3 separate regions of the Homo sapiens genome follow, and all the other regions are linked to region 1. Evidence: promoter capture Hi-C in 16 types of primary human blood cells and fetal thymus (Javierre and others, 2016). All regions are on one chromosome and are shown on one strand. Each heading gives the region's core, a stretch centred on a gene start or on the middle of the fragment in contact. The rest is flanking DNA. Distances are from core to core; before and after follow the strand shown.

The links. The method cuts DNA at HindIII sites, captures the fragments that hold promoters and counts their contacts. A CHiCAGO score of 5 or more calls a contact.
Region 2: a contact is called between the fragment with the promoter of LINC00692 here and a fragment that was not itself captured in region 1, in 2 of 17 cell types (megakaryocytes and fetal thymus). The highest score is 8.6, in megakaryocytes.
Region 3: a contact is called between the fragment with the promoter of NGLY1 here and a fragment that was not itself captured in region 1, in 1 of 17 cell types (fetal thymus). The highest score is 6.0, in fetal thymus.

Annotation. Positions count from the first base shown.
Region 1 is chr3:26,711,350-26,714,049 of GRCh38, forward strand. No RefSeq gene overlaps it. Among named protein-coding and RNA genes, the nearest start is that of LRRC3B, 90 kb to the left of the region's middle. The HindIII fragment of the contact is 206 bases long and covers 1,248-1,453 here.
Region 2 is chr3:25,872,257-25,874,956 of GRCh38, forward strand. LINC00692 (long intergenic non-protein coding RNA 692) reads right to left here and starts at 1,439. Exons shown (of 8, transcript NR_034055.1): 1 at 1,385-1,439; 2 at 59-226. It overlaps LOC124909357 (a long non-coding RNA gene), which reads left to right and starts at 1,522. Exons shown (of 2, transcript XR_007095849.1): 1 at 1,522-1,747. The HindIII fragment of the contact is 8,581 bases long and covers 1-2,700 here.
Region 3 is chr3:25,782,080-25,784,779 of GRCh38, forward strand. It overlaps NGLY1 (N-glycanase 1), which reads right to left and starts at 1,364. Exons shown (of 12, transcript NM_018297.4): 1 at 1,181-1,364. The coding sequence starts at 1,311. RefSeq lists enhancers at 714-793, 954-1,003 and a silencer at 1,314-1,553. The HindIII fragment of the contact is 11,918 bases long and covers 1-2,700 here.

The DNA.
Region 1 (2,700 bases), core at 101-2,600:
AGAGCTTCATTGAGTTGCCAGGTAGAAAGTATTAGAACTTCTTAAATTTGAATCAGATCTTTCTGTCTCCAAAGAAAGGTCTTCACATTATGTTCCTACTGAGTTGGTTTATAGTTATAATTTTCTGTTAAAAAAAGCACCTAGGTTAAGTACACAGTTCTGAGTTTTAAAATATATATACTCCTGGCATCTGTCATACAATCAAGATATTGTGTCCTTGTCATTGGCCAGAGATAGATAGGAGAAAGCACATTTGGTTCTTAAGAGTAGGGAATTGTGTGGAAGTTATTGGTTTTAAGGTACCATTACAGATAATCTTTAAAACTTGGGTGGGATCTCATAAGGTGATGATGTAGACAAGGAAGATAGAAGAAGCAGAGGGATACCATATAGGGAGGTGTTTGGGATGAAGGAGTCCATGCAAAGAAGTGAGAAACAAGGCTGGAACTATATAGTAGAGATCTCAGTTCCAGACTAAGGAATAATAGAACTGATGGCATTTATGGAACACTTACTATGCACCAAGTACTTTCTTTGGAGTATCTTAATGAGTCCTTACAAACTCCCCTATGAGACAGTCTTTTGTGAATGAGAATCAGAGACACAGGAGTTAAGTAATTAATACAGAGTTTGTAAGCATAGCAGGCATTGAAACCCAGTCTGTCAACTCCAGAACCTATGAACATTTTATCCACTGTGCTGCCTTATGGTCATCAACTTTACTACCTAAAGTTGCTGATTCCTCAGACCTAGAGTTTTGCAGCCTCCTACATGATGGTTTTATTTTTCAAATAGCACAAAAATAGCCCTTTGTGAGATTTATGTAGGTAAGAGGGAACCTCTGCCCTTTTGAGACACTTAGCCTTCTCCAACCCAAGTTAGGGTATCTTTGGGCCTAATATTTCTGCTCTCGGAAAGCCCTAGAGGTCCTAGGCAGCAATAGTCTCTTTAAATGTTTATTTATTGCAAGGGACAATCAGGGTCAGCTAATCCAGGACCTGTGGCGAGGCATGCAGAGCACTGTGGCCAGGCTCTGCTCATGGTACACACACCCCAGGGCCATGGGCTTTTCACCCCAACCCCACCAAACTTGCTAAAAGTGTTAGATCTAGTCTAGAAGCCTGAGGTAACTCCTAGATGTAAAATTCAGGATATAGGCCCAAGAATTCCTGCATCCCAGCAAGAAGGAAGCCAGACTGTCTGCTTTTACGAACTGAATTGAGAATTCACCTTTCCAGTGAGACTGAAGCTTTGCTGAAGATTTATCGCCCCCTGGAGGACAATAGTATAATATATCTCTTCAGGTACTCTAGAAAAGATGCCCAACTGAACTGAAATACACATTTTTTTCCTAAAGAATAGGAAAATCAAGCCTTTGCTAAGACAACCCTTTAAAAAGGTAAATTAATTGTATTTATTTGAGTGTATGAATGAGTCACGTTCATTTTAGAAAAGCTTTCACAAATAAGATAATCCATTCCAGGCTGCTTCTTCCAAAATAATCTTTGTCTTCACTAATGGGAGCTTATTTTCCCAATGGTCAATTGTATTATTCAAGTAAAAGTACTTGTAAAGCAAAAATCTCTGAAAAGTTTTGTAAGCATAGTTATATCCTTGTTCAGATGCAGGAAAGTTAAATTTCCACATATTCACTTTGAAATTCTCCATATACATAGAGCTGAGAGGTGTGTCATAGGTTAATAATTCTCCTGCCTGAATTCTATGTGTAGATTTTTAGTTAACAGCACCTTAAGCGCTTTTTTTTTTTTTTTTTTAAAAAGAGCCTTTAAGTTCGGTTGCCATGAATCATGTATAAGCCATTGGAGGAGAAAATTAATTCTTTTGTTTGTTTCTTTATTTTAAAATAAATACCAGGCTATGGCACCCGTTTGTGATCAGAATTGAGAAGAAGCACTCTTCCTGCCAGCTTGTGGGAATGCTGTGTCCCCCAAGGCCAACAGTATATGCTGCCAATGAGTGAAAAGAACTAAGACTCAAGTCTGCACAGAAAAAGGCCCAACATGCATGCTTCAGTTTTGATCCCAGCTTGGCCCTTAATTTTCCAAACCCTTGCAGATGGAGAGCTACCTATTTTGGGACTGTAAGGTTTTTGAAATTAACTGTCAACTCATTATCCAAGGCACATACTATCTTACCTCTATCTTACCTTCTAAATATTTTAAATAACGCTTTTCTCAGCCTTCTCTTTTGGCATCTCTTTCTTAACCCCAACCTTTTAAATTCAGAAATACCTAGGAATTTTACTCTAATTTTTGACAATGTGCTTATCTTTGAAGCAAGGAAAATCGGAAAACATGCCAACCCAACTGGAACATTTTTAACAAAGTAATGAAAAGTTATGTAATGGAAGATTTAGCTTTCAAGAACACTTTGGCAAATTGTAATGCAATGATATACAAAATCTGCCAGGTACGCATTGTTCTTTTTTACGTCCTTCTCTGATTCTTCACAATAACTCTTGTCCTGACATCAACAAACATAAGGCAGTCTCAGATGTGGGTAGGTTTTTCTTATTGGCTTAATACTTTCAATTCATATAGTAAGTTCTCTCATCTATCTGGCAGAGGCAGGAAGTGGAAAATTCTGCTTAATTAAATGTTTTTGTTACTACAGCTAGGTGAATTCCTAGATTGTTAGGGCTGGGAGAGTCTTAGGGATGAGCTTACCTACTTATTTTAC
Region 2 (2,700 bases), core at 189-2,688, 840 kb before region 1:
AGAATTGTAGTTTTGAGAACCACGCTCAAACATTGTCAAAAAATTCTAGGGCATGTACCTTTTAAAATGATCTGTTGTGTTCTTTTCACTTTCCATTCTCTTTTGGTGCATGCTGCTGCTACTGTTTGCTGTTAAATGGTTGCTGGTTTCACTTCAGATGGGTGCAGGTTTGAGTTAACGAAGGTAAAAGCTAGGTCATTTGAGAACAATATGACTTTTCTGAAAGCTAAATCATAGAGAAACTGCCAGATATAAAAACAGATAAACTATACATTTAAAAACTCATTTTAATAAAAACATATTATGATAAAAAGATAATTCCAGTCTGTTTGATTCTAGAGTCTATTCTCTTAATTATATTGTTAAGCAACAAAATGGGGAAGGAAGCAAACTTAAGTTGAACTTTCTGAGCCTGAGTTTCATTTTCTATGAAATAAGGATAGTAATATCTCATTGAATTGCTGTGGGGACTAAATTAGATAATGTATGTAAAATGCAAAAGACAATCTATAAATGTTTACTTCTCTCCTGCCGTCCATCTAGCTCAAACTTGCACTAGAGGTGATTAGGTATTTAGAGTTCAAATAACTGAGTTGTGATGTCAGCAAAATCAAAATTAAGCAGACTGAATTTCCAGATGTGTCCAAATGTCAATGAAACCAATATTTAAGCAGAGATCTACTGGACTGCGCTGTAACTCCATAAGCCTTGAATAATTGAGGATTGACTGTAAACTGAGGATCTGTGTTCTGCATTATGACCTTGCATTAACAGAGACTAAACAATTGAAGGTTTGGAGGTAAGTGAAATAGCCTGGTGCCTGTAATATTTCAGGAGGAAATGCAACAATATAACAAGCAACACAAGTACTGATATTAATTGAGAAAGGTCTCATTTATCTCTCTGGAAAATTTCTCCCTTCAAATGCCACTTATCACGAGAGTGTGGATTCTCTGATGTATTTTAGTGATCACTCAGTTATCTTCAGTACTTGCTCTCCACCCTGGTCTTATAATACAGACTTTTCTGCGTTTTCAGTTGTTCCAGGCTCTAGTCACATCTCAGTTATGTGCAATAATAGTCATTGTGGAGTTGCTGCAAATCAAAATTTCCCAGGTAATACCAAGTCTCATTTAACTTCCAGAGCCATCCATCACCAAACATTTTATTGGAGAACCAAAAAGGGTGGAGTAGGGGAGCTGAGTGAATTTCTGAGTCTGCTGGAGTTGATAACTGTAAGTGTCATGGCCCCAGTATTACTAGCCATAGATAGAGATAATTTAAAAAATCATCCCTGTAACCCTAGGTACTGATTATCTATTGCTACATAGCAAGCCGCCTTGAAACACATGGCTTAAAATAACAATTTATTTTTATATCTCACAGTTCTGTGGCTTAACTGGTCTCAGCTTGGCATCTCTCTTGTAGTTGAAGTCAAATAGAGGCTAGGGCTACATTCGTCTAAAGGTTCAGTTGAGTTGGAATGTGGCATGGCTGGCAGTTGATGATGACTGTTTCCTAGGAGTTCTGCTGGAGCTACATGCCTGAACACCAACCAATAACCTTTTCATGTGGCTGAGACCTTTCATATGGCCACAGTCCTCAGAGACAGCATCCCAAGAGTGATCCTTTTAAGAGGCTCAGGTAGAAATTGCAAGGTGTTTTTACAGTCTTTTCAGAGGTTGGAGTGTCACTTCTGTCATATTCTGCTGGTTCAACAAGCCAGTAAAGCCAAGCCCAGAGTAAGGTAATAAGACTCCACTTCTTGATGAGGAAATGTCAAAGTCATATTGCGGAACAGCGTATTAGATAGGAGATACTATGGTGATCATCTTTGGAAGGTGCAATCTGCCACATCCAGTTCTTCTGTTCCAGATGCCAACAGAGCTCACCTGTATCCAGAACACTCCTGGGCTCTGGCTGGTTTAAATACTTTCTGCATTTACTGGTCAACTCAGAATAATTTATAATTAGTAAGATGTATAGAAGAAATCAGAAAGTATCAATTTTCATAACATATCATGATTCTTTCACAAATCAGACATTCTTGCATTCTTATTCTTGTTGCCAGTGTTTTGCTCCATATGACATTCACAATTCTGTATTCATGTGTACTTTGGCCACTGAAATCCTGTTGTCCTCTTTACCTCTGCGTTGACCTTTTTGTGTTTCAGATGCTTGACTTGCTCTTGATCCCTGGTACCCAAGACTTTCATCACCTCTGCTTTCAAAGTTTGGCCTCCAGGCCTTTGAACTACCTCTAATAACTGTTTTTTTTTTTTTTTTTTTTTTTGAGAGGAGTCTCGCTCTGTCTCCCAGGCTGGAGTGCAGTGGTGCAATCTTGGCTCACTGCAAACTCTGCTCCCGGGTTCACGTCATTCTCCCACCTCAGCCTCCTGAGTAGCTGGGACTACGGGTGCCCGCCACCACGCCTGGCTAATTTTTTGTATTTTTAGTAGAGACGGAGTTTCACCATTCACAGGATGGTCTCGATCTCCTGACCTCATGATGTGCCCGCCTCGGCCTCCCAAAGTGCTGGGATTACAGGCATGAGCCACCGCGCCCGGCAATAACTGTTAGCTTAGCTTCCGTAGCTGCTGCCTTTACCACTTGACGTACAGATAATTGATGCGAATGCAGAGGAAACCTGAATGTTTGGCTTTCCTATCTTGACCCCACTTCTACCCAGTCCTTTTTAGG
Region 3 (2,700 bases), core at 114-2,613, 930 kb before region 1:
TGTGAACAGGCCACATGTTGCATCTTTCATAGCATCTGCCACAAAATAAGGGCTCAATATATTTTCCCTTCAATTTACTTTAAAAATCATTACCATTGCCTAAATGAAATATTACTGACATGGATTTTAAAAACTGCACATGTAACTAATGTCTAAAATTGGGTCACGTGAAACCTATAACCTTGAAACTGAGAATTTCCTTTTAGACTTCATGACAATATACCAAACACTTAATGCACCAGGGGCTGAGGGGAACAGAGAACCTAATTAATCACGGTGACCTGATAAATGAGGTAACACCCCTAAAGCAAGTGGCTCTCCTTTAACCTCAGTTCCATTTCCCTACCCCCCCACACCATGTCCCTTCAGATCATTTGATCTGAAGAGTTGAGGTGGGTACTTATTCAAAATGAATAATCAAACTTGCCTCCCAATTCCCAAAATCTGCAAGGTCCCTTAGACCTCTAGAAGTGCAATTTTGCTGACAGGAGAATGAAGGAAATTACTCTCATCCAAGGCGATTACCTCCACGAATTCTTAAAGGGTTATGTTACATAGTAGAATCCAGGTATTAATATAAAAACTGTAACTTCAAAATACTATAATGTTTCAATCAACAAAAGTGGGCAGAAAAAAAATTAAAAATTTTAAAACCCACCACTTCAGAAGCATTATGCTTTAGTACTCGGATAGTCTCAACATGGGAAGAAAACATCACTTTGTCAGTGAGTAACTTCTGATAAGTATGTGGAAATGTAAGCCACTCCGCTCGAAAAATGCACGCAGGGGGAATGACACGCGCGGTGCGGTTACCGTTGTGTCCCGATATCTGAGGCCGTTAAACGACGAGAAGAGCGGCAGTGTCTGAAGCACGCCTTCCTACCTCTCCTCCGCCCGGCCCCGCTTCCGGGACTCCAGTTCACCCGCAGCACCCTGACTGCAGGTGCCAAGTCACAACTGCAAAGAAACTTCCTTTTCTCGAGCGGGGGTGGGACTTGGCCGGGTCCCGAGGCCCCTGGCCGGCGGGCTCGGACGTTAGGAGCAGAACCAGCTCCAGGTCCCGGTCTGTCCGGGCGTCGCTGCCCTCTGAAGCTCAGGCCGGACGCCCCAGTCCCTGGCCGAACAAGGTGCCGCGGCCCACCCACCCCGGTACCCGCCGTCCGACCCCGTTGCCCTGCACCTGAGGATGTTGTCAGCATAGGTGAGCAGCAGCTTGGAGGCCTCCAAAAAGGTCTCCGGGGTGTTCTGGCAGAGCTCAGCCACGGCCGGGGACGCCGAGCCTGAGGAGCTGCCCAATGCCGCCGCCGCCATGCTTGAGCGCCAGCGGGCGCCGCCGCCGCCCCTCGCTCTCCGCGTCCCACACTGAGCAGGCGCCTCAGCGCGCAGCAGCTACCGCAGCCACCGGCAGGGGCGGGGTCCTCGGCCGGCAGGGGCGGGGTCCTCGGCCGGCAGGGGCGGGGTCCTCGGCCGGCAGGGGCGGGGTCCTCGGCCGGCAGGGGCGGGGTCTTCGGCCGGCAGGGGCGGGGTCGGGGGCCTGGGGCGGGGTCGGGGACCGGGGCCAGGAGCGGGGGAGCTCGGCTGGGAGCTACGGCTGCCCCTTCGCGGGGGGCAAGGGGCTGTTCGGAAGAAGGTGGGGGGCCTCGGCCGGCAGGGGCGAGGTGCTTCGACCCAGAGTTGGGGCCTGGTCGTACAGGTTGGGAAGGGGTTCCGCAGGGAGAGGCGGGGCCTGGGCTCCGGGGCTGAGGGGTGTGGGCCTGGAGGAGGGGGATGTCGAGTCCTTTAGGACGGAGGAGCTCGGCTGGAGGGGAGGCCGGCTTTGGTCTAGAGGTATCGGGCGAATGGTGCTGGCACGTGCCTCTCAGAAACCCGGATCCCTTTGCGCTCCGGGGCCAGCCTAATTGATCCAGCTATTAAGGTGGAGAAACCGCATGTACCTCCCTCCTTTCCCCACAAATAAAACCACCTTAGAGCCTTCTCTTCGCAGATTGTCAGGACGTTCTACATAGATGTGGATGAAAGACTACAGAAGGAAGGAGCAACAAACGTCAAAAACAAAACCATGGCTATAAACTCTGCTGGGTTTGTTATATGGATTCTTTTCAGAATTTGGCTAATGACTGAAAATCTAAGTTCCAGCTCAACTAGTATATGATTCCTCTGTAAGGAAGTGTATTTTTAAACCATAGGTTGCGACATAATAATGGGTTGTGGATTCGGTTTACCGCGTGGTGACCAGCGTAAAACACATGCATAATAATTACGCAATATTATAGAATGTCGGGGGCGGGAAGGGAATAAAAATTTGCATCCCACACAGTAAGGGTAAGTAATATTTTGTGACTTGTTTTTTAGGTAGATCATGTGATCAAGGTCTTTTATTCCTCTTAGAAGATGCATCCCTTACTACTTTAATCCAGTCTCTTCCCCACCATGTTCTTGAAAGTGTACTTTACCAGTGGCTTCCTTCTTTGCAGAAATTCCTTTTCAACCTCACGAAGTATTTTTCTTGACTTTATTTCTTAAGATAAGTGATTTGCCTGAATAACCTCTTTTAAATTTCTTGATGTTTCATCTGTTTACTTTTAAGAATTGAAATTTTCTTCCAGAATCTCCGAACAAGACCCTAAGCTATGACATCCAGTTCAATGACTATTCGTCTCCCAAATATACGTACGCTTTTAATAAATATGTAAATCTTTG